Linked DNA regions of Homo sapiens: regions 2, 3 and 4 are each linked to region 1. Evidence: promoter capture Hi-C in human tissues and cell types (Jung and others, 2019). All regions are on one chromosome and are shown on one strand. The core of a region is centred on a gene start or on the middle of the fragment in contact, and the rest is flanking DNA. Distances in the headings are between cores, read along the strand shown. Region 1 holds the start of KLF15 (KLF transcription factor 15). Region 2 holds the start of ALDH1L1 (aldehyde dehydrogenase 1 family member L1). Region 3 overlaps ALDH1L1-AS2 (ALDH1L1 antisense RNA 2). Region 4 overlaps LOC124909426 (a long non-coding RNA gene).

Region 1 (6,379 bases), core at 1,666-4,165:
TCTCTAAGTCTCTTCCTGCTCAGGGACCCCAGGACCTTTAGCCCCAGTTCCCAACTTACCCAGGAAGCTTCACGGAGCTCCAGGAAACTAAGGCAAGGTCTGTGCCCCAGGCCAGTTTTACTAGGAGGACATTTGGCTTTTTGGTTTAAATACTCAGCTAAGGATTTAAACCTGGAATATGTTTTAAAATGCACCTATTCACCAAATCAGGTGCTGGGAAGGAATGAAAGTGCTAGACACTGTGAAGGGCACAAGGCTGGGCAGAGCCCACACTCCACCCTGGGCCTCCCCCAACCCTTTCCCACCCTCCAAGCAGGGGCTCCATTTCTGAGTCTGCAAGTTGTCTGCCAGGTGACCTCAGGCAGGTGCACAGCCTTTCTGTGTCTGTCTCAGTCTGTGAGATGGGGGTGCTTCCAACAGTGCCTGGTTCCTCAGGTGTTGTGAGAATTCCGTGAGCTGACGCTCACTAAGCACCCCCCTCAGGATCTGGCACACCGGCAGCACTCAGCCAGTGCCAGCCATTGGTGTCAGCCTGCAGGCACGGCAAACGTTCGGCCTCTGCCCCTCTACTGTGATGTTAAGGAATCAGGGGCCTCCAGCCCTCCTGGGACCCAGAGCAGGCCTTAGAGCCCTCCCCTGAAACGTGATCACTAACTGGCCATCCCATGATATTAAGTAATTACTGTTAATATTTTTAATTGTGATGATCATATTGTGGTTAAAGGAGGCCTTACCTTTTAAACATATAAACAGATATTGACAGATAAAGTGATCTAAAAAGTACAGTAGGGGGGCTGGAAGGAAACACCCTCCAATGGCTTCCCAAGGACAGGTGGCCCTATCTCCTCGCAGCAGCCCAGCACCTGGGCCCTTGGGACTCTCTGCAGACCTCACCACCAACTGCCTCTCTTCTAGTCCAGGTGTGCTCACTTCACTTCAGCCTCAGCCCGGGGCCACTGCCCTGGCTCTTCCCCCAGCACTGCAGGTGGGAGCTGCTTAGTTAGATCTCGGCTCAGAAGTCACCCCTGTGGGGGCCTCCAGGCCCACTCTGTTACATCATCCTATATTATACTCTTCCCTGCAGTTTCTACTGTGGGAAACTATCTTGGTGATGTGTTTGTGAACTTTCCTCCCTGTCTACCTTCCCATCAGAATATCAGCTGTCCTGACTGTTCACTCCAAGGCCATATCCCAGAGTCTAAAACAGGACCGGGCAAAATTTGCTGAATGAGTGAATGGAAGGTGCGGGGGAGAGCGGGGGAGGTCGGAGAGTAGGAATGGGTGGCCCAGGTCAGCCAACAGGGTCTTAATGCTGGGCTGAACGTCCCAAGGGGGAAGCACCCAGGCACTGACAACCCAGAAAGGGCTCTGGGATGTCCCAGGGCACCGGCATTAAAGAGAGGACACTCTAGGGCTGGAGCTGGCTCGGCCCCTGAAACACAGCAGCACGTGGGGCGGCCAGAGGCGCAGGCTGCGTGCAGGGGGAGGGGACACGCTGTTCCGGGCACAGTCCCCGGCTGGCCGCCGGACTCCGCCCCCTCCCCTGGCCCGGCCAGGCCTGCTGTTTATCCTCCCGGGGACACAGCGGCTGCAGGAACAACATGTAATTGATAACAAGCCCAGCGCCGGCCAAGGGCTTGCCATTGGGTCAGCGTGCAAATCACGGGGGTGGCGGCGGGGGCTGTCCTTCAAAATAAGAGTCTCCGGTCCCTGAGCCGCCCGCAGGCCCCAAAGTCGCAGAGTCCGGGCGTCCTCACACCTGTAGGGCGGCAGGGTCTCCCCAGGGGCCACCTGGTCCGGGGGGACAGGGGGAAGGAGATTTGAGGCTCTCAAACAATTGTTGATTTTGTCACCTCCGAGGGCCGTGGGAGAAAACAGCCCCTCTGTGCCCTCCGTGAGAGGGGGGTTCCATGAGTAACACCAAGGCGGGGAGGGAAGAGTGAACCGGACCACCATATGGGATGGGGACGGCCTCTCTGCCCCGCCGCCGCCATCCCTCGGTCAGGCCATGGCTTTGGTAATGTTCGGTCTGAGCGGACGGGGACTCAGCGTGGAGTGAGACGCGTGAACGGTGCGGGTGTGCGTGAAGGGGTGTGAGTTCCTGTCGTGTGACTGCGTGTGCGGGGCGTGGTGCGCGGCAGCCGCTGTGGCTGTGCGGGAGGCTGTCCGCGAAGGACTCGCGCGTGGAGCCGCCGTGGGTGCCGGCGGGTGAGGGGAAACGTGCGTGGGAAATGAAGAGAGCCGGCTCAGACCCCTTCTAGAGTCCTGGACCGCTGCCCGCTGGGCACCATGCCCTCGTCCCACGCCCCCCCCTTGCCCCCGACACTGCTGCGGTGACCGACAGTAACCCCTCCGTCTCCAGCCCCTCCGCCCCCCAACCCCGGGCTGGCCAGCGCGTCCGCTCTCCCCCTCCTCTCACCAGGCCGCGCCGGTGCCCACCATATGGGAGGGCCGGCCCGCAAGGCGCGCCACGGAATCGCCCGGCCAGGCACCGAGGCGGCGGCGCGGGCCTCAGCAAAGTGCTGGTGGGCGACCGGGGCGGGGGGGGTCACCTCCCCCGGGCCAGTCCGACCCCTGCCCACCTCCGCGGGGGCCCATCCCGCTCCTCCGACATTCCTCCAGCACTCGCGCGGTGCCTCCGAGAGCTGCGCGGGAGCACGGCCACGCGCCCCGAGGCCGGCCAGCCCTCTGATCACCCGGGGCCGCGTCCACGCGGCCGGCCGGCCCCGCCGCGCCTCTCCCACCTGAACTTGGCGCACGCCGGACCGGCGGCCAGGCCCCGGCGGTCCTGCGGCCGGGCGGGCTGGGCTGGGGGCGGCGGCTAGACTCTCGGTCCGGCGGCGGCCGGGGGCCGAGCCGCGGGTCCTGCGCTGGCTCGATCGCCCGCCGGCCCGCGGGTCGCTGCGGCGGAGCACTAGCCCGCCCGCAGCTCGCTGGGCACTCACTCCCCGCCGCTCACGTGACGCAGCGGGCGCCGCGAAGGCTCGCAGGAGGCTCGGCCCCGGGCGCGCGCCCCATTGGCCCGCGCTGCGCGTCACACGTCCCGCCCCGCCCTGGCCCCGCCCTGGCCCCGCCCCGGCCCGCCCGCGCGGCTCCCGGACTTGAGCGGCGGATGCTCGGGGATCCCGGAGCTGCCAGACGCGCACGCCCCCCAACACGCTGCCTGGTCCCTGGCCCGCAGCCACCTCCTTGCTTCCCACCTCTCGCCGCTGTCTCGCGGCGTCCACGAGGGCCGGCTTCTAAAGCTCGGTTCCCAAGGTGAGAACGTGAGACTGGCCTGAAGACTTAAGAAAAGCTCTGAGATCGCCCCAAAGTGCAGTCTGCGTGATTGAGCGGGAAGCGCTGGGGAGCCTGTCTGGCCCGGTCTGGCCCACGTCCCCACCTTCATCCCCAGCGCGGTACAAGCAGCTCTGTCCCCCGCTGAGTGTCAGATAAATCACTTGCCTAGAAGGACGTATTTTTGGATAAATACGGTATTGGGCTTTCAGCAGGACAATCAGTTACCCTCCGGAAATTGCGCGCGCTCTGCGCTGCCACCCTGCCCTCCAGGACTAAGGAGGTTTGCTGACCGGCCCCCCCCCCCCCCACCTGAAACCAATGACACCTTGTCTCTGGGGCACCTTTCTGAAGACCAAACAATGCTTCGCAGTCTACAAAAGCGTTCGTAGACTGCTTTAGTCCGCAGCAATCCTGGCTCGCATTTGGGTTCCCGCTTAGAGACAGGAAGAGTAAGGCTCAGAGTGGCTTGCCCAAGAAAAACACGTGGGCTGACGGTGCTAGGCACCCTGCTGTGCCCTTTAATCCACACTCCAGCTGGATCCTCAGCCAAGCACTTTACAGATGAAGAAACCGACTCAGAGAGGGCACCAGCCCTCCCCAGCCCCACAGCTGGGAAGGAGCAGGTAGAGAGGTAGAGCCAGGTCATCTTGCAGACACCCCCAGGCCACCTGTGCAGAGCTGTCCTACTGAGCTTCCTTCCTCTCCCCTCCTGGCACTGGGAGGTGGGGAGCATTTTCTCCTGCTTCTTCTTGAAGACATTGCTAGAACAGGAATTTTTAACCATACCCTTTCCAGGCTCTCTGGAATGCTATAGGTCTAGGCTTGCTTGACCAGGGATCTGGGGACACTGTGCACCAGGTCAGTGCCAGGGATTCAGCTGCTGCTGCCACTAGGAGCCAAACCAATGCGTTGCCAGAGGGCTTTAAGGACATTTGTGTTGAGGATGGTGAGAGGCTTTCTAGTTCACAGAAGTTGGAATGACCACTCTGGCATTACAGCAGCCCTGGCTAGCCTGGGCAGAACAGTGGAATTTGTCCATTTTCATAAGAGAAGAGATAGAGGCCTGTATTCCTCATTTTGTCTCAGTGCAGGTCTGGATTGGGCATAGCCACAGCACTTCTCCATCTGCCCTGCCCGCCCTCGGTCTTCACTCCTCACATACTCTCAGTCTAGTGCCTCCCATCTCCTTGGTGAAAGCTGCAGCAAAAGGTCAGAAAAAGCTTGGAAGCAAAGACACATCGTTAGCACCTTCAGCACACAGGGAGGAGGCCCCACTGGCTAGAAACTGGAGAACAGCCAAGATGGTCCTGTTAAAACCTGAGTCAGATCAGGTCCCTTCTGGGTTCAGAAGCTTCCAGCAGCTCCCAACTCACTCAGAGTAAGTAAAGCCCAAGTTTTCACCACAATCTTTAATGCCCTACAGCTAGGTACAGCATTTACCCCAAACCATATCTAAGGAGAAAAGCTCCCTCAATATAGTGGGGAGAATCTATCATTGAGATTCCTTGGCAGAAAGGAGAGAACAAAGTCAGGTGGTGCTCTTCAAAACAGATGACCAAAAACAGTAAAGATTTATCTTCATAGCAGTGAAAATCTCTAAGTTTCTTTTCTTCCAAAGCAATTCCTTCCCTACTTCTACATAATCAAGTATAGAAAAGGGCCTTGGAAGGATATAAATTATATTGGTTAAATATTGTATGACCTTGCCTATAAAACCATTTGGGCCTGGTGCCTTTTTGGAGTGATCTTTCTCCATGCTTGAATTTCACACATTTTACCAGGATATGTCTGACTCTAGCCTCCTTCTGTTTTCATTGTTACTACTCTATGCTTGGTGTATCCTTTTAATCTGGAAACTCAAGTCTTTCTTCGTTCAGGGAAACGTTCTTCTATTGTCTCTTGTTTCCCCCTAAACAGCTGCATGGATTGCTCCATCGCATACTCAGGTCTCTGCTCAGATGCCACCTTATCCCAGACACCTTCCTCACCCATCCCGTCTAAAACAGCACATCTGCTGCCCTCAGTTTCCTGGCCTCTGTTTATTTTGCTTCATGATCCTGATCTTTATATTATTTATTGATTTGTTTCTTGCCTGTCTCTCCTATCAGGAGACAAGCTCCTTAAGAGCATGGACTTGTATTTTTTTATTCACTGCTGTATCCCCAGAACCTAGAACACTTCTGAAACATGTTGAGGAAATGAGATTTTCTTCTTGCCCCAGTAAAGCTGCCAATGGATATGGGATCTTTGGAGAAGCTCTTCAAGGTCTGGTGCTCTCTTCCACAGTACTGTAGCCACCAATCTTGTCCTCATCCCCTGTTCCACACACATACCTGAGACTTCCAGCCTCCCCACTAGCTCATGCCTGCCCGGGGGTCTGAGCCCAGCCTGCCCTCTTCCAGGAAGCATTTTGAGGGCCCCATTCAGTGGCTCAATGGTCTGTGCACAAAGGGCCCACTGTGGCCATCAAGCCCTGTGACCTCCCACAGTGACTGACTTCTCCTCACCCTTCCCAGGTGGGAAGCAACAATTCCCCCTACTCTCAGCTCCCCTGTCCCCAGCCATGCTTCAAGGGTCTCTGGCCAGAGTCCCTTACCTTCTCACCACCTCTTCCTCTAAGGGCTGGGGTGCTGAAGAGATCCTACCCATTCTGGGCTCAGGAAGTGGTTTTGAGCTGGAGGCTAGGGAATAGGCAGGCAGAAGGGCTGCTGGTGCCCAGGGGCCAGGAAAAACATGCTGCAGGAGGTTCCTCAGGCTGGGCTGGACCGTTTCCCCACCAAGCAGACCCCTGGTGCTGTGTAGACAAGAGGTCAGGTCTGTTCTGACACCAGGCGACTCAGATGAGGGCCCACTCCTCTCTCATGACCAGTGTTGTCCCCACCCCCAGCCCCCCAGCCCTGAGCACACCTAGCTTTGAGGAACATCAGCCCAGGGACCTGGGGACCTGGTGGTCCAAGAAGACACAGAGAAGGGCTGAGTCCTGAGAGCCTCTGCCCTGAGAGCCTCTGCCCCTGGCTCTGAGCATTGGCAAAGCCCCAGGTATACCCCTGCCCGGAGGATCCAGAAGCAGCAGGGGCTGAGGTGGGATGAGAGCTCCAGC
Region 2 (6,379 bases), core at 1,733-4,232, 180 kb before region 1:
TGTAATCCCAGCACTTTGGGAGGCCAAGGCGGGCTGATCACTTGAGGCCAGGAGTTCAAAAGCAGCCTGGCTAACATGGTAAAACCCTGTCTCTACTATTATAAAAATACAATAATTAGCTGGGCATGGTGGTGCACCTGTAATCCCAGCTACTCGAGAGGCTGAGGCCCAAGAATTGCTTGAACCTGGGAGGCAGAAACTGTAGTGAGCTGAGATTGTGCCACTGCACTCCAGCCTAGGCAACAGAGCAAGACTGTTTCAAAAAGAAAAAAGCTGTAACAAAAATATCCTATCAATGCATGATGTTAAAAATAGGGGAGGCCAGGCCTAGTGGTTCATGCCTGTAATCCCAGCACTTTGGGAGGCCAAGGCAGAGGATCACTTGAGCCCTTGAGTTCAAGGCCAGCTTGGGCAACAAAGTGAGACCCATCTCTACAAAAAAATTTTTAAATTAGCCAGGCGTGGTTGTGCATGCCTGTAGTCCCAGCTACTTGGGAGGCTGAGGCATGAGAATCACTTGAGCCCAGGAGTTCAAAGCTGCAGTAAGCTGTGTTTGTGCCACTGCACTCCAGCCTGGGCAACAAAGTGAGACCCTGTCTCAAAAAAAAAAAAAAAGAAAAAAAAAAAAAGAAAGGAAAAGAATAGAAAGAAAAATAGGAGAAAGCGCGCAGGAAGGGACAGACTGAGAATATGGGAACTCTGCACTCCGTCCTCAATTCTTCTGTAAACCTAAAACTGCTCTAAAAATGTCTACTAATTGAAATAAATAAATGAATCTAGCTCTATAGTTCACATCTTACTCTAAAATACAGTCCAATTGGGTTAAAAATAAATACTTGAAAATCAAATATAAGAAGAAAACATTAAATTATTAGAAAATATTGGTAAATATTGAGTTATACAAACCTGACACTGTCAAAACACCCAACAAGTAACAAACCACGATAATTGTGTAAGGCTTAAGTTTGTGTGTGTGTGTGTGTGTGTCTGTGTGTGCATGCGTGTGTTTATCTGCAGGGTAAAAGCCTAGAAGAATTTACACTGAAATGTTGAAAGTTACTGGGTAAAGGGTTTTGGGTTTCAGAGGTTTTTGACGACTGTAATTATTTTGTTTTCTTAACTGAATGTTCTTTTTTTATATTGTACATGATTACTTCTGAAAAAAAAAAATAAAAGAGTATGTCGTTCCCCCCCTGCAGGGAGGCAGAGTCCAGGTGGCCACCAAGGGGCTGTTGTCACAGTCCAGGGAAAGCCAGAATGGCAGGCACGGGAGCCTTGGGAGGGGCCTCAATCAGGCTTGCCCTTTGGCCCCAGAAAGAGCAGGGGCCTGCAGTGAAGCCCATAGAGCCCCTTGTGGGCCGTATGGGCCGCCTCCAGGCCTCCACCTCCTCCCCCAGTCATGGCCGCTCAGTGTCCTTTCACTTGGTGGTGTGGGGACACTGGGAGGCTTCCTGGGCCTCCCAACCCTCCTACCCAATTCCCAGCCCAGGCTTGGCTCTCCAGGACCCAGCTTCTAGTCCCTGTGAGGCTGGGCCACCCTGCAGGACTGCAGCTCTGGGCCCTCTGTTCTGGTGCTAGGGCCCTGGGGCCCATGAATGCAGTTCTAGCACTCGGGAGGCTGAGGCGGGAGAATCACTTGAACCCGGGAGGCGGAGGTTGCAGTGAGCCGAGATCGTGCCACTGCACTCCAGCCTGGGCGACAGAGCGAGACTCTGTCTCAAACAAACAAACAAACAAACAGCAGCCAACATTCTCCGAGGGTTTCCTAGGGCCAGGCGCGGGGCAGTCTCATGTAATTCTCAAGCAATCTTGGGAGGCAGGCACTACTGTTCATTGCCCCTCCCGATTTTAGAGACAAGAAACTAAGATTCAGAACACAAGAAACTTGCCCAAGGTCAAGGAGAAGTGGAGGCGTGGGGAGGAAACAAAGTCACCTGACACCAGAGCCCATGCCTCCAAACTCCAAGTCTGGGACTCCTGATTAAATTCCGTCTCTGTCTGCACTTTGGGAAGATTCTTTCCTCTCCTAGGCAAGTGCCCGCGGGGCCTGAGCTCTCGATAGCGGGGCCCCAGGAGCCACGTTGTGGGGTCTGCTATCCGGCCTCCCTCTGCACGCGCGACCGTCCACTTGAGCGCAGTGGCTGGAGCTGGGACTCCAGCGCAGCCCCTGAGCGCTCACGTCGACCCCTCCAATCACAAGAGGCCCTCGTGCCAGGCCCCCAGATTTGGCCAATCAGGGAAGACCTTTCCCTGTCACAGAATGGGGTCGAGGGGCCCAGGAAACAGGTAGTCCCCAGTCACAAATCATCGCGTCGCCTTCGCTGGTCCCTTTCTCTTATCGAGCCTCAGTTTTCTCTTCCATAAGCCGGGCCAGCAGTGCCCACCCCACAGGTTGGCGCCAGCTCCGTAAGGGCCCTACCACCGCGGCCGGCCAGATCCTCGGCGGGCCAGTCCTGGCGCTGCGGTCATTTAGCCTGATGACCCCTGGCCAGGTTCAGCCTCAATTGCTCCAAAGAACTCCGGACCCGTACCCCGAGCCCGGCGTCCCAGCGGCGAAGTTGATGGGCCCCGCAGGAGCCCTTGCGGTGAGAACCGAGTCCTGGAGCCCCTGGAGCCCCCGGAGCCCCCGGAGCTGCAGCCGGGGCAGCCTCCTTTCCGCCGGGAGTCCAGCGCTCTCGAGAGCCCAGAAACTCACCGCGCGCAGGAGTTGGTGCGGGCGTCCCGGGCAGGTTAGACTTCTGTGAGCCGCAGCCCCGAAACTGAGGTTGGTGCAGACCCGTCCTGGGAGCCAGGAGGTGGGACCTGTCCCCGCCAGTCCGCGAGCTCTGGTTAAGGCCAGAGCCCGTGAGGGGAGGGGCGCGGGGCGGGCGGAGAGTCAGCCGAGTGGGGGCGGCGCTCACCGGTGGTGGGACTATGGCGGGAGCGCAGCGCACCCTCTCCGGGCGGGTCTATAAATGCCATGTAAAAGCCAACCCCGCAGGGGCCTGCGCTCTTTCCCGCTTAGGTCAAGAAGACTTACTGTGGACCCTTGGAGAATTCCCAGGGCTTTGAAAAGTCCCAAGCACCCAGCAGGGCTGGCAGTTCTGAGCGCTGGCAAGGCTAAGTGGGTCAGAGGAGACCCTCGCCAAGCCGGTGACTCACTCACTCGCTCACCCTCTCTCACTCTTGATGGGCCAAGTACCTGCCATGTGCTACGGACACAGCAGAGCGAAAGGAGACGCTGCCCTCCGGGAATTTGCAGCCGCTTGCAGAGGCGGCCCCTTAGCAGCTGCGCATCCGGGTGGATAGCGGCGCTTCTGCCCGCCCAGTGCCTACCCGCCTCTCCGAGAGAAAAACAGCCCCTGGTTTTCTCTCTGCAATTCCCCTTCTCCACTCTCTCCCTTCTACTCAGTCCTGGTGCCGCAGACCCCTCCTCCTGGTTCCCAGAGATCCTGGCCAGCCCGGTCTCAGGCAAGGCCATGTAGAATGCCGGGAGTGATAATTGCGTATTGTTTCATGACTGCAAGCCTGTGTCCAGGTGGCTCCTTCTCCTGGAACACCCTTCCCACCACACCTGCGGCCGCACTGCTCCGTGCCCTGCTAAGCCTCACTTCTTTTGAGGCGACCCTCTCGCTAAGTCCCGACCACCTGGCCCTCTCTCTGCTCAGTGCCTGAACACATCAGGCTTGCTGCAGCCCCTGCCTTTACCTCTCTACTTGTAGTGTTCTTTCAGAGCCTGCTCCCATATGGTATCACATATCAGATATCTGATGCAGAGCCTTAGAGAGGCTGTTCCAGGTCACACAAACTAAGGAAGTCCCTCAGCCACTCCCTGCCACATCACCCTGTTCTATTTCCTTCACAGCACTTAACTGTATATCTGATATTTCCTTGTTTCTTTGTTTGTTCATTGTCTGTCTCTCCCACTAGACTGTAAGCTCTTTGAGGACAGGAAATTTGTGAGATGTATTCACTGTTGTATCCCCAATACACAGTGATGGCTTGTAGCAGTTGCTAAATAAATGTTTGTTGAATGGCTTAATGCATGTATTTTGCTCACATAAGCCAGTATGGGCACCCAGGATTGAGGTGGCCTGTGCCTGCTGATCCACTTAGCCTACTTTCAGGCACTGTCCCCTTGTTCTTTAGGCTCCAGCCTGCAGGTCTCCCTGCTGTCCCTCATATCTGTGGAACTTCTCGACTCATAAAGTTTCCATGTGCCGTTCATCTTTGTCCAGAGAACCCCCATCATTCTTCAGGAAGTTCCTACTAAAATGCCATGACTTCAGGGAAGCTTTCCCTAGCCTCAGCCTTACTAGGACAGATTCCTCCATTATGTGATCACAGAGAGGCCTGTAATTTTTCTTCATGAACCTCTCTCAACTTTATTTATTTATTTTTTTTTGAGGTAGAGTCTCACTCTGTCACCCAGGCTAGAGTCCAATGGTGCAATCTCAGCTCAATGGACCCTCCACCTCCTAGGTTCAAGCGATTCTCCTGCCTTAGCCTCCTGAGTAGCTGGGATTACAGGCATGCGCCACCACACCCAGCTAATTTTTGTATTTTTAGTAGACGTTTCACCGGGGTTTCACCATGTTGGCCAGGCTGGTCTCAAACTCCTGACGTCAGATGATCCACCTACCTCAGCCTCCCAAAGTGCTGAGATTACAGGCATGAGCCACTGCACCCTGCCTTCAACTGCAATTTTATCACTGCTTCTGGGATTGCTTGATTAACATGTCTCTGGACAATGATGGCGAAGACTAGCTTATTCTCCTGGGAAGTCCCCAGGGCTGAATGCATGCCCTGTGTGTGGAAGGTGTGCCATATAATCTGTAGGAAAACTGGCTGAGTGTTAGGGGCCTGCAATGGGAAAGTGGTGTGTTCTGAACTTGGGAGTTAAAATTGAGAAGGCAGATGGGCGACAGGAACCACTGAACAATGGCTTGGAGGTTAGACACCCCAAAAAGATGTATTAGGAAATCAGAGAGGAATCCATACTCTTAGAGGTATGGAGCAGGAGAGGAGGGAATTTTAAGCAGAAAGTGTTCCGAAATCATGTGGAAAGTAGAAAATGTACCAGATGAACTGGGGGATCTCATTAAGGAGATTGTTGAAGGTGCCTCCTCCTGGCTTCTTCTTGCTGCTTATACTAAAATGTGAGAGAAGGGACATAAGCCAAAGGAAGGATTGTTAAATAAAAAGGAACCATAACTTGGGCTGTGAAAATGTCCAGCTTCTCCAGATGTCATATGATGCTAAAACTAACAAATGGCTTCCAGGCAAAGAGCAAATGCAGGCCAGTGCAAGGAAGATGGCCTAAAGATGAAGCCAAGAGTGTGGTCATGAGATCTTTTGTAAAATCTTCAAAGAGAACAAAGGGACACCTCAGAATATTTTGTTAAATAGTAGGATTTCTAAGAAGCTTACAGTTGTCCTTGACAGCAGTCTCAGCAGAAGCCCAAGAGAGAGAAGGGCTTTTCTCAAAGAGATGTGTGGGTTTGACAGTTGTCTAAAGGCATGAACCTCAGTGAGATCTACAGGAGACATGCAACATTTTTAAAAGAATTATATGAGCAAAACAGTGTAGACTTGGACTGAAAGGGTCAGAGACAATATAAAATGAAAAGAGACCTCTAGACTCCCCCAAATTCTGGGAGGAAGCAAGCTGAGAAACTATACGGATATGAACCTGGGCTGCATTTCATGGAAAAGAAGGGATGACTTGGGGAATAGAACAAAGAACCCAAAGGGTGGAGCCAAGAGCGTGGAGAATCACTCTGGGGCCAGAGTCAGACTGAGTCCTATTCAAGAGACTTTCAGGACCCGCCCAGGAAGATTTTAGAATTGCCGTACACTAGTTACTCCTGCATGCCTCCTGTCCTTGTTCCCTTTGGAGCAGGCACGTCTACAGTGGTTATCCAATGCCTATCCCACCAGTTTATGTCAGGTGGGTGCAGGGGGGAGGCGCAGTTAATTTGTCTCTGGAATTCCTAAGTCTGTAGATTGAGAGCAACTCTACTCAAGGAGCTACACTTGAGGGAATAATACCCCAGGTGCTTCACCCACATCAAAGCCTGATTTAGATGCAGAGATTCTGGATATTGAGCTGATTCTACAGTGGGATGAGGCTTTGAGGGGATGTTTGGAGGGCGAATGTATTTTGCATGTGGAAGGATGTAAGTAGTTTGTGGCCAGTAGGTGGACTGTGGTCATTTTAAAACTCTCTGATGCTCTTCCATTCAAGGAGTGGCACTTAATTCCCCTGCCTTTGAATGTAGGCTGAACGTAGTGACTTCCTTTTAACACATGAAAGATGGTGGAAGTAACTGTGTGATTTCCGAATCCATCCTTTCATAGACCAGAGAGAGAAGCTGAGGCTTGAGGTCAGACAGTGGCA
Region 3 (6,379 bases), core at 1,884-4,383, 150 kb before region 1:
TAGTCAAGACCTGAACACAAGTCAAATGCCCACCAATTGGAGAATGAATAAAAAAATTAATACTTTTATACAGTAGAGTATTATTTATTAATAAAAAGGAAGGAATACATGCAGCAATATTATGTTAAGTGACAGAAGCCAGACTCAAAATAGTACATGCTGTGTGACTTTTCTACAGGATGTTTGAGATCAGATAAAACTAATGTATGGTAATAAAAGTCAGCACAGTCACTGGGTGAGGGTGGGGTTGACCGGAAAGCAACCCCAGGATATTTCTTGGTGCAATGAAATGTCCTCTAGCTTGTTCGAGATGGTGGCTGTGCAGGTTGTGAAACTGCCAAAACCCATTAAACACAACATGTAAGATCTGTAAACAGAAATTATTATAAGGTTAAAATTAACTACAAAAGGAATATGTGCTTGGTATAAAACACGAAACAATCCAAAAATGAATAGAGAAAAAGTTAACAACCCACTCACCCTCTTTGGACTTCCCTGAGGCAATTGCTATTACTGTTGTTTGTGTACAGAACTGAAGGCCTGTTACTATCCTGCAAAAACTCTTGTTACTATTCAAGCATCACGCCTGTAATCCTAACACTTTGGGAGGCCAAGGTGGGAGAATCACTTGAAGCCAGGGGTTCAAGACCAGCCTGGGCAAAACAGTCTCTACAGATTTTTTAAAAAATATATTAGCCAGGCATGGCAGCATGCAGCTGTAGTCCTAGCTGCTTAGGAGGCTGAAGCAAGAGTACGGCTTGAGCCCAGGAGTTTGAACCTGGGTGACAGAGTGAGATTCTGTCTCTAAAAACAAAAACAAAATGAAATTGATATTGAAACTTTCAGTTCAAATTTAGGCTTGTAACATTTTATGTAGCTTCTTTGGTCTCAATAAAAAAATAATTTGAAAACAAGAAAGATTCTAAGAAGATAATTAGATAAGTGAAATAATGACATTCAATAGGTTTGAAATATAAAGTTAGAAACACCTTCCAAAAATTAGATTAAAATGATGAATAAATGGAAAATAACATAAAAGATAAAAGGTTTAGAAAATCAACCCATAAAAGATGAAAGGTTTAGAAAATCCACCCATGAATCAACCCAACATTGAACAATAAGTGAAGTCGCATATATTCTAGTTGACTTCCAGTTACTGTATGAAACTTTTTTCATTTATTAGACATGTAGGGAATAGACTGACCACTGAACTGAGACACTCTCAGACAATCACAGCGTTCAATCACAGACAATTGCAGACATTCTCAGACAATCACAGTGTTGTGCCTTCTTAGCTACGGCCCCAGACTCCACCACAGCAGGTGGGAAGTTCAGCCAGTTCCATTTCAGACTTGAAGGGCCAGGACACCCAGATGGCAAAGACTGGCCTCATGCCCACTAAGGATGAGTTGCGAAGCAGACATTCATGAGAAAGGGAAAGGAGAGATGCTGACAACCACATCCACACAGCTCTTGGACAAGGAAACTAGGATGCAAATAACAACAGCATCTTGGAAAAAGGTGGTGCTGCACTTGAAAGGAAGACAGGAACCCACTTTTAAATATTTTATTCCCAATGAAACATGAGACAATGAAACAGGAGCACTTGTTAACTCAAAGAAGGACTGAAAATATGCCCCCTTCCTCAAAACTCTTTTTTAGAAGCCACTGGAGCACGCAATCCAGAAAAAAAAAAAAAAGAAAAAAAAAACAGAACAAACAAAGGAACAGCAAGATCTGGATGCAGGAGCCGTGGGGGCGGGTACTGGTACAGGACACGGGCTACAGTCAGTCTCAGGATGCCTGCAGGCTGGGCAGCCAGAGGTCCTGTGCAGCAAGGCAGAGGTGCTGGGGCACAGTGGGGTTGACAGAGTCTGCAAGATGAGGCACCTTATAAAGGATATGGCCATGTACTTGACAGGTCTAATGCAGCATTTTGAAAAAATAAATAAAGATCAGTGCACCAAAATGAAGCAAATTTTAAAATGAGGTCATCACTAACTCTAAGCGAAACAAAAAGTTGGACTAGGAAAAAACCCCACCATATACTACTATTGCGTTTGCAGTGTGGTACATAGTCTTAATAGACTACTAATGTATAATAGATTGTAAAATTTATCAATATTTTACTACATCCGTACTGGGAGATTGGAGGGTTGGGGAGAAAGGGAAAATGCAGAGAAGGGGGCTGGCACAAGGAATAAATCTTCATCTGTCCTGACAAACACTCCGCAGAGCATATCAGAAATTACTCATTGGGCAATAGCTGTGCAAGCGTATTATTTGGAAGCACTTATTAATGTGTTTGGTATTTCCACTCTTGTTGGATGTGTGCAGCAGGCCCACTTCAGGTGCAGAAGGGGAGGTCCATTGTCTCATCCTTGTACACCTAGCACCACCAGGGTGTCTGCAGAAGGCAGGGCTTAGTGAGCTAATGAACAGGCAAACACATACACGTCCTTGGATATCCCTCTGCCACATTCAGGGAGCAGGGGTCTGTGTGTAGGGAACCTGCTCCTAAGGCAGTTGGCTGTTGTCTACCCCACCCCCCCACACACACACCTAGGCTGGACTTACCCTCTCAGGCCCCAAAGGTCAGGCCAGGTAGGGCTGGGACAGCCTCCCTAGCAGGGCCTGATGGCTAAGGAAGCAGGGATGTAGGCTGAGAAAGAGAAGGAGGGAGACACGGGGGTTGCAGGCTCTGATTTCAGGTCCATGCTGGGGCCCTGATGGCTCATGCTAGAGATGGGTATCATGCTTGCAAAGTTCTACAGGAAACGGGAACATGGGCACCGTGTCCCTGGGCTGCCTGGGTCCTCCCTGCCAAGTCCAGTTCTGCTTAGACTCACACGCGGCCATCTCTCCATTTATAGGGTTACTCCAGTGAGTTCAATTACAGCACTGATTCCCTGTGCTGAGGGCTCAGGACAGGCAAAGAGCTGCCCTTGACTTCCGGGATTCTTAGGTTCCCCATGGCACTGATACTGTGGACTTGTGAAATTTCATTTCTGATAAGATTGCATAAATCCCAATGAGGTCACTGTATTAGTCTGTTCTCGCATTGTATAAAGAACTACCTGAGACTGGGTAACTTATAAGAAAAGAAGTTTTAATTGGCTCATGGTTCCACAGGAAGCATAGCTGGGAGGGCCTCAGGAAACTTTCAATCATGGTGGAAGGCAAAGGGAAAGCAGGCACATCTTACATGGCCAGAGAAGGAAGAAGAGGAGAGAGAGGCGGGAGGTGACACACACTTTTAAACAACCAGATATGAGAACTCACTATACCAAGAGCAACAGTGGGGATCTGGCCACACGATCCAATCACCCCGCACCAGGCCTTTCCTCCAACATTGGGGATTACAATTTGAGGTGAGATTTGGGCGGGGACACAAATCCAAACCATATCAGTCACCTTCTAATGAAATGCTTTTTAATGAGGTCGAGAGCTTTGCAATTGGTGCAGAGGGCATACACCTGGGAGAGTTTTTTCTATAAGGGTTTTTCGCTGAAGCTTCCTGAAAGTATTGGTGTCTTTATGTTGTAATGGGTGGGCCACTGAGTTCAACCAACATTTAAACAAGCACTTGCTATGTATTGGCCTGGATGAAAAAGGCAGGGTCCCTGTGCTCCAGAAGTTCAGAGTCAGGGAAGGGAGATGGATGTGTCCAATCCATTCATTCTCTTGATAAATGTGTACTGAGCACCTAGGATATGTTGGACACTGTCCCAGACACTGAGATATAGCAAAGAACAAAATTTCAAAAAAACACCACATAGGACTTACCTGACTGGGAACAGACAATAAGCATAATAAAGATGGGAATTATCAGCTATATGAAATGGAGAAAAATAAAGTAGGGGAGAGGAGAGGGAGAGTTGAGGGAGGTTGCATTTTAAACAGAGTGGTGAGGGAAGCTTCATGATAGAGTGATAACTGAGCGGAAACCTACTGAAGGAAAGTGAGTCAAGTACACCCAGGGGAAGGGCACACCAGGGGGAGGAGCATCTGGTGGGAAGGGCACACCTGGATGAAAAGTACAACTGGGGGAATGGTGTACCTGGGGAGTGAGTGTACCTCAGGAAAGGGTGCAACTGGGGAGAGGGAGCACCTGGGGGAAGGGTACACATGGCAAGTTGGTACACCTGGGAGAAGGTTCACCTGGGGAGTAGGTGCACTTGGGGAGACGGTACATCTGTGGAGAGGGCACAGCTGGGGGAAGAGTACACCTGGGGAGGGGGTGCACCTGGGGAGTGGGTGCCTCTAGGAAGAGGGTGCACCTGGGGGAAGGGTGCACCTAAGGAGTGGGTATACTTGGGGAAATGGTGCACTTGGGGGAAGGGTACACCTGGGGAGAGGGTGCACCTGGTGGAAGGGTATACCTGAGGAGTGGGTGCACCTGGGGAGAGGGTGTACCTAGGGAGTGGGTACACTTGGAGAAAGGGTGTTCCTGGGATGTGGGTGCACCTGGGGGAAGGGAGTACCTGTGGAAAAGGTGCACCTAGAAAAGGTACACCTAGGGAAAGGGTGTACCTAGGGGAAAGGTACACCTGGGGAGTGGGTATACCTGGGGAAAGGGTATACCTGGGAGAAAGGTACACCTGGGAGGTGGCTGCACCTAGGAGATGGACACACCTGCGGGAAGGGTTCATCTTGGGGAGGGATTGTCTCATCTCCCTATCCTTTCCCTCCCCTTGTCATTCAAACCTCTAAAATACAAGCTTTTCTCAACTTGGGGCTTGGGGACAAGGGTCACAGAGTCAGTAACCATTAGAAGCAGTATGTAATCATTTGTGTGTACTGCATACAGTGGCATTTTTCTCTAGTGAGACAATTTGTGACTTTAGAATGAGCTTTTTCCCAAAGATTGAGAATCCTGGGATGTTTATTCAATTTCACTCATGAATGCAATGGTTTATTAAAGAATACATTTCCAGAGGAAGTGATGGTCAGAGACGCTTGCTAAGCTTCTAACAGAAGCTTGCAGCCCTGAAGGCTGCCTGCCTCCTCCTGGAGGTCATACCCAGATCTATGCTGGACACCCAGGTCGTGCAAAGCTCAGAGGTCAGCAGGGCTGCCTCTGCCAGCTCCTTTCATGGAAGCTGAGGCACAAGCCTGACAACTTGTTCACTTGCAGCTGACTTCATGCTTTTTGCTTTAGCACATACTTGAGAGAATGTTTCAATTGGAGTCCAATCAGACCAGCCATCCTACTTTGCCATTTTATCACAACCTCAGCACATACACAGGAAAGTTTTAGCAGTTCAACAGAACATTTTTAGTCATTTGGCAGAAGTAGTATGCCAATTTGCAAATTTGCTGGAAATTTCCCAATATACAATCTCTGTTAACAAGCTCATTACAAAACTTCTCACAGCCTCCCTGGGGGATTGTACTAGGAACTAGATGTATCCAAGGCACTAATGTTGTTTCTAGATATTTTATTTTTATTGTGATTGTAAAAGAGATCTTTGTTCACTTTATTTTGTAAAGGGTTGTTGCAAGTATATATAAATGCAACTTATCACTGTGTTTATTTTATATCCAGCCACTTTATTCTCTTACTATTATCCCTAAATACTTGCTACGTCTTTGAGGAATGCCCATATTTTTCTGCCCTGTGGACATCACTTCTTGACCAATAAATTGGGAGTTCAGTGCTGGATTCTGAGCAGGGAAGTGATGTGTGCCTTCTAAGCAGAAGCTCTCTGGGTATCTGTTACTGCTTTTAAAACCATCCCACTGTAATCCCAGCACTTTGGGAGGCCGAGGTGGGCAGATCACGAGGTCAGTAGATCGAGACCATCCTGGCTAACACGGTGAAACCCCGTCTCTACTAAAAATGCAAAAAAAAATTAGCCAGGCATGGTGGCAGGCGCCTGTAGTCCCAGCTACTCGGGAGGCTGAGGCAGGAGAAGGCGTGAACCCAGGAAGTGGAGCTTGCAGTGAGCCAAGATCGCGCCACTGCACTCCAGCCTGTAAGCAAGACTCTGTCTCACAAAAAACAAAATAAAACAAAAAAACAAAACAAAACAAAAACACCATCCCAACACAGAGTGGCTTAAAATAATGGTTCATTATGATGTAATGGCCCTGTGGACTGGGTGCGGTAGTTCTTTCTTAGGTTTCTTATGTGTGGTAGTCAGTTTCTGGCTGCGGCTGCACACCACCTGAAGGCTCAGCTGGGCCGGATGTCCAAAATGGCCGAGTCGCACAGTGAGCAGTGGATTCTGACTGTCACCTGGAGCCTCAGTGGGGGCTCTTCACTGGAGCACTCACATATGGCATCTCCACATGGCTTGGGATTCTCACAGCCTGACAGCTAAATTCCAGGAGGGAACATTATCAAGAGATCCAGGCATCTTACAAGCCCAGCCTC
Region 4 (6,379 bases), core at 1,468-3,967, 130 kb before region 1:
GTCATTCTAAAATTAATGTGAAATCTCAAGAGATTCCAAATAGCTGAAACAATATTTTAAAAGAAGAACAAAGCTGGACTCACAAGCCCTGATATTCCTGATGTTAAAACATACTGCAAAGCTCCAGTAATCAAAACTGTGTGTTATCAACATAAAAACAGACAAATAGACCAATGGAATAGAAGAGAGGACCCCAAATGAACACTCGTGTATGGTCAAATGAACTTCAGCAAGGGTACTAAGATCATTCAATGGAGAAGGGAAAGTATTTTCAAGAAATCACATTAAGGAAAAAAACTGGATATCCACCTGCAAAATAATAAATTTGGACCCTTATAGCATATACAAAAATTAAGGTAAAATGGATTAAAGATGTAATACCTAAAACTATAAAACTAGAGTAAACTACAGGGGAAAATCTTCATGACATTGTACTTGGCATGATTTCTTGGATAATGACACCACAAGTACAGGCAACAAAAGCAAAAATAGGCAAATGGGACTGTGTTAAACTTTGCAAATGTTTATCGAAGGATAAGATCAACAGAGTGAACAGGCAAATCATATATCTGATAAGGGGTTAATAGCCAGAATTTACAAAAGAACTGTTATAACTCAACAACAAGAAATCAACCAGGTTTAAAAATGATCAAAAGACTTGAATAGATATTTCTCCTAACATTATTTACCAATGGCCAAGAAACAAATGAAAAGATGGCAACATCTCTAATCATCAGAGAAATTCAAATAAAAATCACATTGAGCTATCACCTCATACTCATTACAATGACTACTATTTAAAGAAAAAAGAAAAAAAAGAACAAATTGGAAACGATGTGGAGGACCTCATGTGCAGTGTTAGTAGGAATATAAAATGGTGCAGCCATTGTGGAAAACAATACAACAGTTCCTCAAAAAATTAAAAATAGAATTACCATATGATGCAGCAATTCCACTTCTGTTTAAATGCCCAAATGAACTGGAAGCAGTCCCCCAAAGAGATATTTGCACACCCATGTTCATAGCAACATTATTCACAACAGCTGATAGGTGAAAGCAACACAAATGTCCCTTTATGGATGAATAAATAAACAAAATGTGGTATGTGCCTACAAGGGAATATGATTTAGCCTTAAAAAGGAAGAAAATTTTGTCTTGTGCAACAACATAAATGAACTTTAAGGATATTATGCTAAGCGAAACAAGCCAGTCAGAAAAAAGAGGAGTACAGGTCATCACTGATTTATGATGTTTTGACTTACAATTTTTCCACTTTACAATGGTGCGAAAGCAATATCCATTTAGTAAAAACCATATTTGAAATTTAGATTTGGATCTTTCCCAGGCTAAGGATATTCAGTACCATGGTCTCTTTCAACGCTGGGCAGTAGCTACGAGTCACAGCTTCCACACTTGTTTGCCAGTCAATTTTGCCCAACTGTGGGCTAATGTAAGTGTTCTGAGCACGTTTAAGATAGGCTAGTCCAAGCTATGATGTTCAATAGGTTAGGTGTATTAAATGTATTTTTGACTAACCACAGGTTTATCAACATAATTCCATTGTAAGTCGAGGAGTATTTGTACTGTATGATCCTGCTGTAAGAGCTATCTAAAGTAGCTGGATTCATAGCAACAGAAAGTAGAACGGTGGTGACCAAGGGAAGAAGGGAAGGAGAGAAGGGGAGCTGCTGTTTAATGGGCATAGACTTGCAACTTGAAAAAGCTCCAGAGAGATTTGTTTCACAATAATGTGAATAGATGTGACACCTCAGCACTATACACTTAAAAATGGTTAAAATGGTACATTTTGTGCTATGTATTTTTTACTACAATTATGTGTGTGTGTGTGTGTGTGTGTGTGTGTGTGTGTGTATGACATGTATCTCTATAAAGGGGAGGGCCCCATCATCACACACAGTCCCCCAGGCTTCCTTCCCATCCCCATCTCCAGTTCCACCGTAGCCAGCATTTCAAGTTTGGTCCACAAAATATCCCACAACTTTGTTTTAAATGCACAGATAAGCCTTATACATATGTGGAAAGTATTTAAGTGGTATTATATTGTATATCAGTATTTATCTATCATGTTTTGAAAAAGAAAAACTCTCTATGGACCTAATCAAACTTTTCAAAGTACATTAGGGAAAACAGAATTTAGCTAGATTGGGGTTAACTTATGTTAAGAACAGCAGGTTTCTCCAAGACTCTCCAAGATGGATTCTTATCACATTCTCAAATGCACAAAGGAAAAGAGTTTGGTGACTCTGGAACCAGAATGGGGGTTGTGGAGGCCGTTGTTTGCCCTGTGGTCTCAGTTCTTTATGGATCTAAGAAGAGTTGTTAATTTTCAGTTTGGTTTTGCTTTCTTCTTATTACAAGGATGGGAGTGAAGACCAATCTCCTTATATTTCACACCAAAAACCAGAAGTCCCAAAACATTTCAAAGTCTAAATACAGTTGATACTTTTCATAGAAAATATAAATGACCAAGAAGTAGTAGAAAAAGTAAATAAATCAATAAATATTCATGGCATGGAAAACCCCTTTAATTTAAAAAGTATCTGTCACAAGCCAACAACTTACGACAAGTTGAATGATTAAACACTAGAGACAAACATATGCATTATTCATGATCTAAGATCCCAGAAACCCTTTAAAATCCTTGGGATCAATTAAATCTCACAATCAGGTTTTTTTTTTCAGATTTCTCAAAGATAATGTCATACATATATTATACCTTGGAAAACAACCCCAATGAGGACCGGGAGGACAGTCCATAATCGAGCACATTACTGCCTAGGTCACCAAATGCTCTTGCCCCAAGTTGTATACTTGAAGAGTATAAATAGTCCTCATTGGTTCAGGCCAGATTTTATTACCCAAAGAGTTTGCCACAGACCTTAGATTTCAGAGTTTTTTGGCATTTAGGAATTGCAGGTGAAGTGCTGTAAACCTATAACTATCAATCAAAGTTGTTCATAAACTTCTAGACAATGCAATAGGACAAAAAAAAAAGCTTAAAAACATTGGAAAGAAAAGAGACAAAATTGTCATTATATTAATTGTCCATTTCTAGAAAATAAGAAAGTACAGAAAACTAGGTTTTAGAGTGTTTTTTAATTCAATATTTTCTATATACATACATATAACATACGTGTGTGACATGTGTGTATGTGCATGTATGTAAGAATGGGTAACACCCTTCTTTTCACCCAGATGGAGATTGAGGAGAGAGAGTAACTGTTCTTGGCAAATAATTTAATCCAGTCTTTTCTAGACTGTGCATTTCTAAGGCTCTAATTGTGTTGCTAAGGGAGAGGTGTTTATAGCAGGTTTGTGGCTGCTTTCTTACCCTGCTAAGCCTGAAAGGGAAGCAGAAAAAGAACAAAGAACTAAATACCACTTTGGATAATAGTGTGATTTACTGATTCCATGGGAGGAAGTGTGTTCTTCCTAATTAAGAGTCAGTTAGGAGACATTTTCTTCCTTGCTGTGGCAAGAACTAATGTTTGTCCTTAAGAAAGACATGTTTGTGCTTAAGTCAACAGACACTCTGTACCATACATAGATTAATTTCCAAATGGACTAAACATTTAAACATGAAACATCAATAAAATTATTTCAATAAGATATAGAATAGTAATCCTAAAACCTTGGAATCGAAAGTGTTTTCATTCTCAGACGTCCAAAAGAAACAATTTGACTCATTTAACCATGTAAAAATATATAATTTTTATGGTAAAAAAAAACACCAAAAATCTTAAAAGAGGAAGTCACTGGTAAAAGTATTCACAACTAAAATGATCACAGAGGGTGTAATCGTTGAATTGTGCTCCTCAAAAAATATCTGTTGCACTCCTAACCCCAGTACCTCAGAATGTGACCTTATTTGGAAATGGGATCTTTTCAAAAGTAAGTGCCTCATATGAGGCATTAGGGTGGGCCCTGATGCAATATGACTGGTGTATTTGAGTATTTGAAGTGGGAGAATACTTGATGCCAGAGATGGGAGGCCAGGAAGAAATAATAAATTTACAATGCACAGCAAACACCATCTTTTAGGGAGAATTCTGGGAATATGGTAACCTGAGCCCAGATCCATTTCCTTCATTCCCACATGTACCTTTTCTGCACCAATCAGCTGCTGAGACTCTGAGCATCTATCTGGGTGCTCATGCAGCCTGGGCTTCTATGAGCATCTCAAAAAGAAGACCTCTGTGGTGCCTTCTCCCCAGTAGCTCAGTGGCAGGTGCCTGGAAGTCAACACTGGGGAGCTGCTAGGAAAATCCTGGGAAGCCTTGGGGGAAGTTCCCATCAGCCCCATGAGCCTGCCTGGTTTCCCTGGTCAAGAAGATACTAAATGTGGGCTGAGTCCTCCTGACCCTGCAGCTAGGGAAACGCAAACAGGATGGAGGAACAAGGGTTTCAGCACATGACCTGCAGTCAGCCTGCTGCAGTGTCACCAGCACATGGAGGCAGAAATCTCTGCACCTTCTACAACCTGTAGAGCTGCTGCCATGCAGGGAACACCAACAGCTAGACTTGAGCCCTGATGAGCCAACACCTAGCCCACAGGATCATGCCAGCCAGAGGGTAAGATTATCCCACAACAAATATAACTCACACCTGGAGAAAGAGAGCTGCTAGAGGACAAGGGTGCAGCTGGAAGAAAATTGGAGGAGGTGAAGAGGGAAAGGACATTTACATGGATTCAAGAGCAGTACAAAAGAGTTTCTGGAGCTAAAAATAAACATAATTTTCTGCTCCAAAAATTCAGTGGATGAGTTACAAGAGAAAAGAGACACTGTTGAAACCTGAATTAGAGTTAGCATTCTGAATATTTACTGCTTATTGCAGTAATATCTCAAAAGATAGCAAATATATCAAATATCTCAAAAATATATCAAATATTTCCAAAAATATATCAAATAAGACAGAAATATATTAAATAAGATAGCAAATATATCAAATAAGACAGAAATCATCATAAACAAATATATAAAGGTTTGGAGCAGTGCATACCAAGGATGAGACAGTGGGAGTGTCCACCCTCAGCTCAGACAATAGTGTGTGCCTTGTCAGGAGATAATTTAGAAAACCAACTAAAAGACAGTTGGTTTTCTATGATCACAATGGACTGGCAATACTCAACAACATCAGTGATACAATAGTCCTCAAAAAAGTCTTCTTTTCATCTAAGATGTAAACCCTTGCTGCAGTTACTGGTTTTTTTAAAAAATTAACTTTACCTTTTAGAACAGTTTAAATTGTCAAAAAGATTTAAAAGATTGTATAGAGAGTTCCCAAATACTCCTTCATCCATTTCTCCCTAAAATTAGTATCTTTCATTAGTATAGTATATTTGTTACAATTAATGAATCAATACTGAGACTAATATCTAGAGCTTATTCTGATTTTCTTAGTTTTACCTAACATGTTTTTCTGTCCCAGGATTCCATCCAGGATACATTACATTTACTCGTCATGTCTCCTTAGGCTCTTCTTGGTGTGGCAGCTTCTCAGACCTTCCTTGTTTTTGAAGATTTCAACAGTGTTGAGGATTAAGAATTTTATAAGATGCCCCTTTTTTGAAACTTATGTGATGTATATCTGATATTTTTGTCATGATTAGATGTAGGTTATATGTAGACCACACAGGTAGAGAAGCAATGTTCATCACGTTATAATAATATTACATGCTATCAACATGATTTGTCACTGTTGATATTGACTTTTGTCAAAGATCAGTTGACTATATTTCTGTGAATCTATTTCTGGGCTCTCTACTCTGTTCCATTGATCTCTTTGTCTCTTCTTTTCCCAGTATCACACTGTCTTGATTACTGTAGCTTTATAGTAGTAAGCCTTGAAGTTGGATTGTGTCAGTCTTCCATCTTCTTTTTTTTTTTGGAGATGGAGTTTCACTCTTGTTGCCCAAGCTGGAGTGCAATGGTGCAATCTCGGCTCACTGCAACCTCTGCCTCCCAGGTTCAAGTGAGTCTCCTGCCTCAGCCTTTCCAGTAGCTGGGATTGCAGGTGTGCACCACCATGCCTGGCTAATTTTTTTGTATTTTTAGTAGAAACAGGGTTTTACCATGTTAGCCAGGCTTGTCTCGAATTCCTGAGCTCAGATGATCCACCCACCTCAGCCTCCCAAAGTGCTGGGATTACAGGTGTGAGCCTGGCCAGTCCTCCAACTTCATTCTTCTTCAGTATTGTGTTGGCTATTCCAGGTCTTTTGCCTTTCTGTATAAACTTTAGAATTAGTCTTTGATATCCACTAAATAGGTAGCTGGGATTTTGATTGTGCTGCACTGAATAAAATTAAGTTGGGAAAGACTGACATCTTAAACAATATTAAATCTTCTTATCTATCCGT

What was found. The method cuts DNA at HindIII sites, captures the fragments that hold promoters and counts their contacts. A contact is called where the count stands out against the background at its distance.
Region 2: a fragment that was not itself captured here is called in contact with the fragment with the promoter of KLF15 in region 1 in 1 of the 25 tissues and cell types used here (H1 embryonic stem cells).
Region 3: a contact is called between a fragment that was not itself captured here and the fragment with the promoter of KLF15 in region 1, in 1 of the 25 tissues and cell types used here (aorta).
Region 4: a contact is called between a fragment that was not itself captured here and the fragment with the promoter of KLF15 in region 1, in 1 of the 25 tissues and cell types used here (IMR-90 fibroblasts).

Annotation. Positions count from the first base shown.
Region 1 is chr3:126,354,493-126,360,871 of GRCh38, forward strand. It overlaps KLF15 (KLF transcription factor 15), which reads right to left and starts at 2,916. Exons shown (of 3, transcript NM_014079.4): 1 at 2,745-2,916. RefSeq lists enhancers at 1,458-2,217, 2,218-2,977 and a silencer at 2,876-3,095. The HindIII fragment of the contact is 9,710 bases long and covers 1-6,379 here.
Region 2 is chr3:126,177,781-126,184,159 of GRCh38, forward strand. It overlaps ALDH1L1 (aldehyde dehydrogenase 1 family member L1), which reads right to left and starts at 2,806. Exons shown (of 23, transcript NM_012190.4): 1 at 2,696-2,806. ALDH1L1-AS2 (ALDH1L1 antisense RNA 2) reads left to right here and starts at 2,285. Exons shown (of 2, transcript NR_046383.1): 1 at 2,285-2,764. RefSeq lists enhancers at 2,466-3,221, 3,222-3,975. The HindIII fragment of the contact is 3,712 bases long and covers 1,127-4,838 here.
Region 3 is chr3:126,201,111-126,207,489 of GRCh38, forward strand. All of the region lies in intron 1 of ALDH1L1-AS2 (ALDH1L1 antisense RNA 2), which reads left to right. Among named protein-coding and RNA genes, the nearest start is that of ALDH1L1, 24 kb to the left of the region's middle. The HindIII fragment of the contact is 3,422 bases long and covers 1,423-4,844 here.
Region 4 is chr3:126,223,290-126,229,668 of GRCh38, forward strand. All of the region lies in intron 1 of LOC124909426 (a long non-coding RNA gene), which reads left to right. Among named protein-coding and RNA genes, the nearest start is that of ALDH1L1, 46 kb to the left of the region's middle. The HindIII fragment of the contact is 6,398 bases long and covers 1-5,916 here.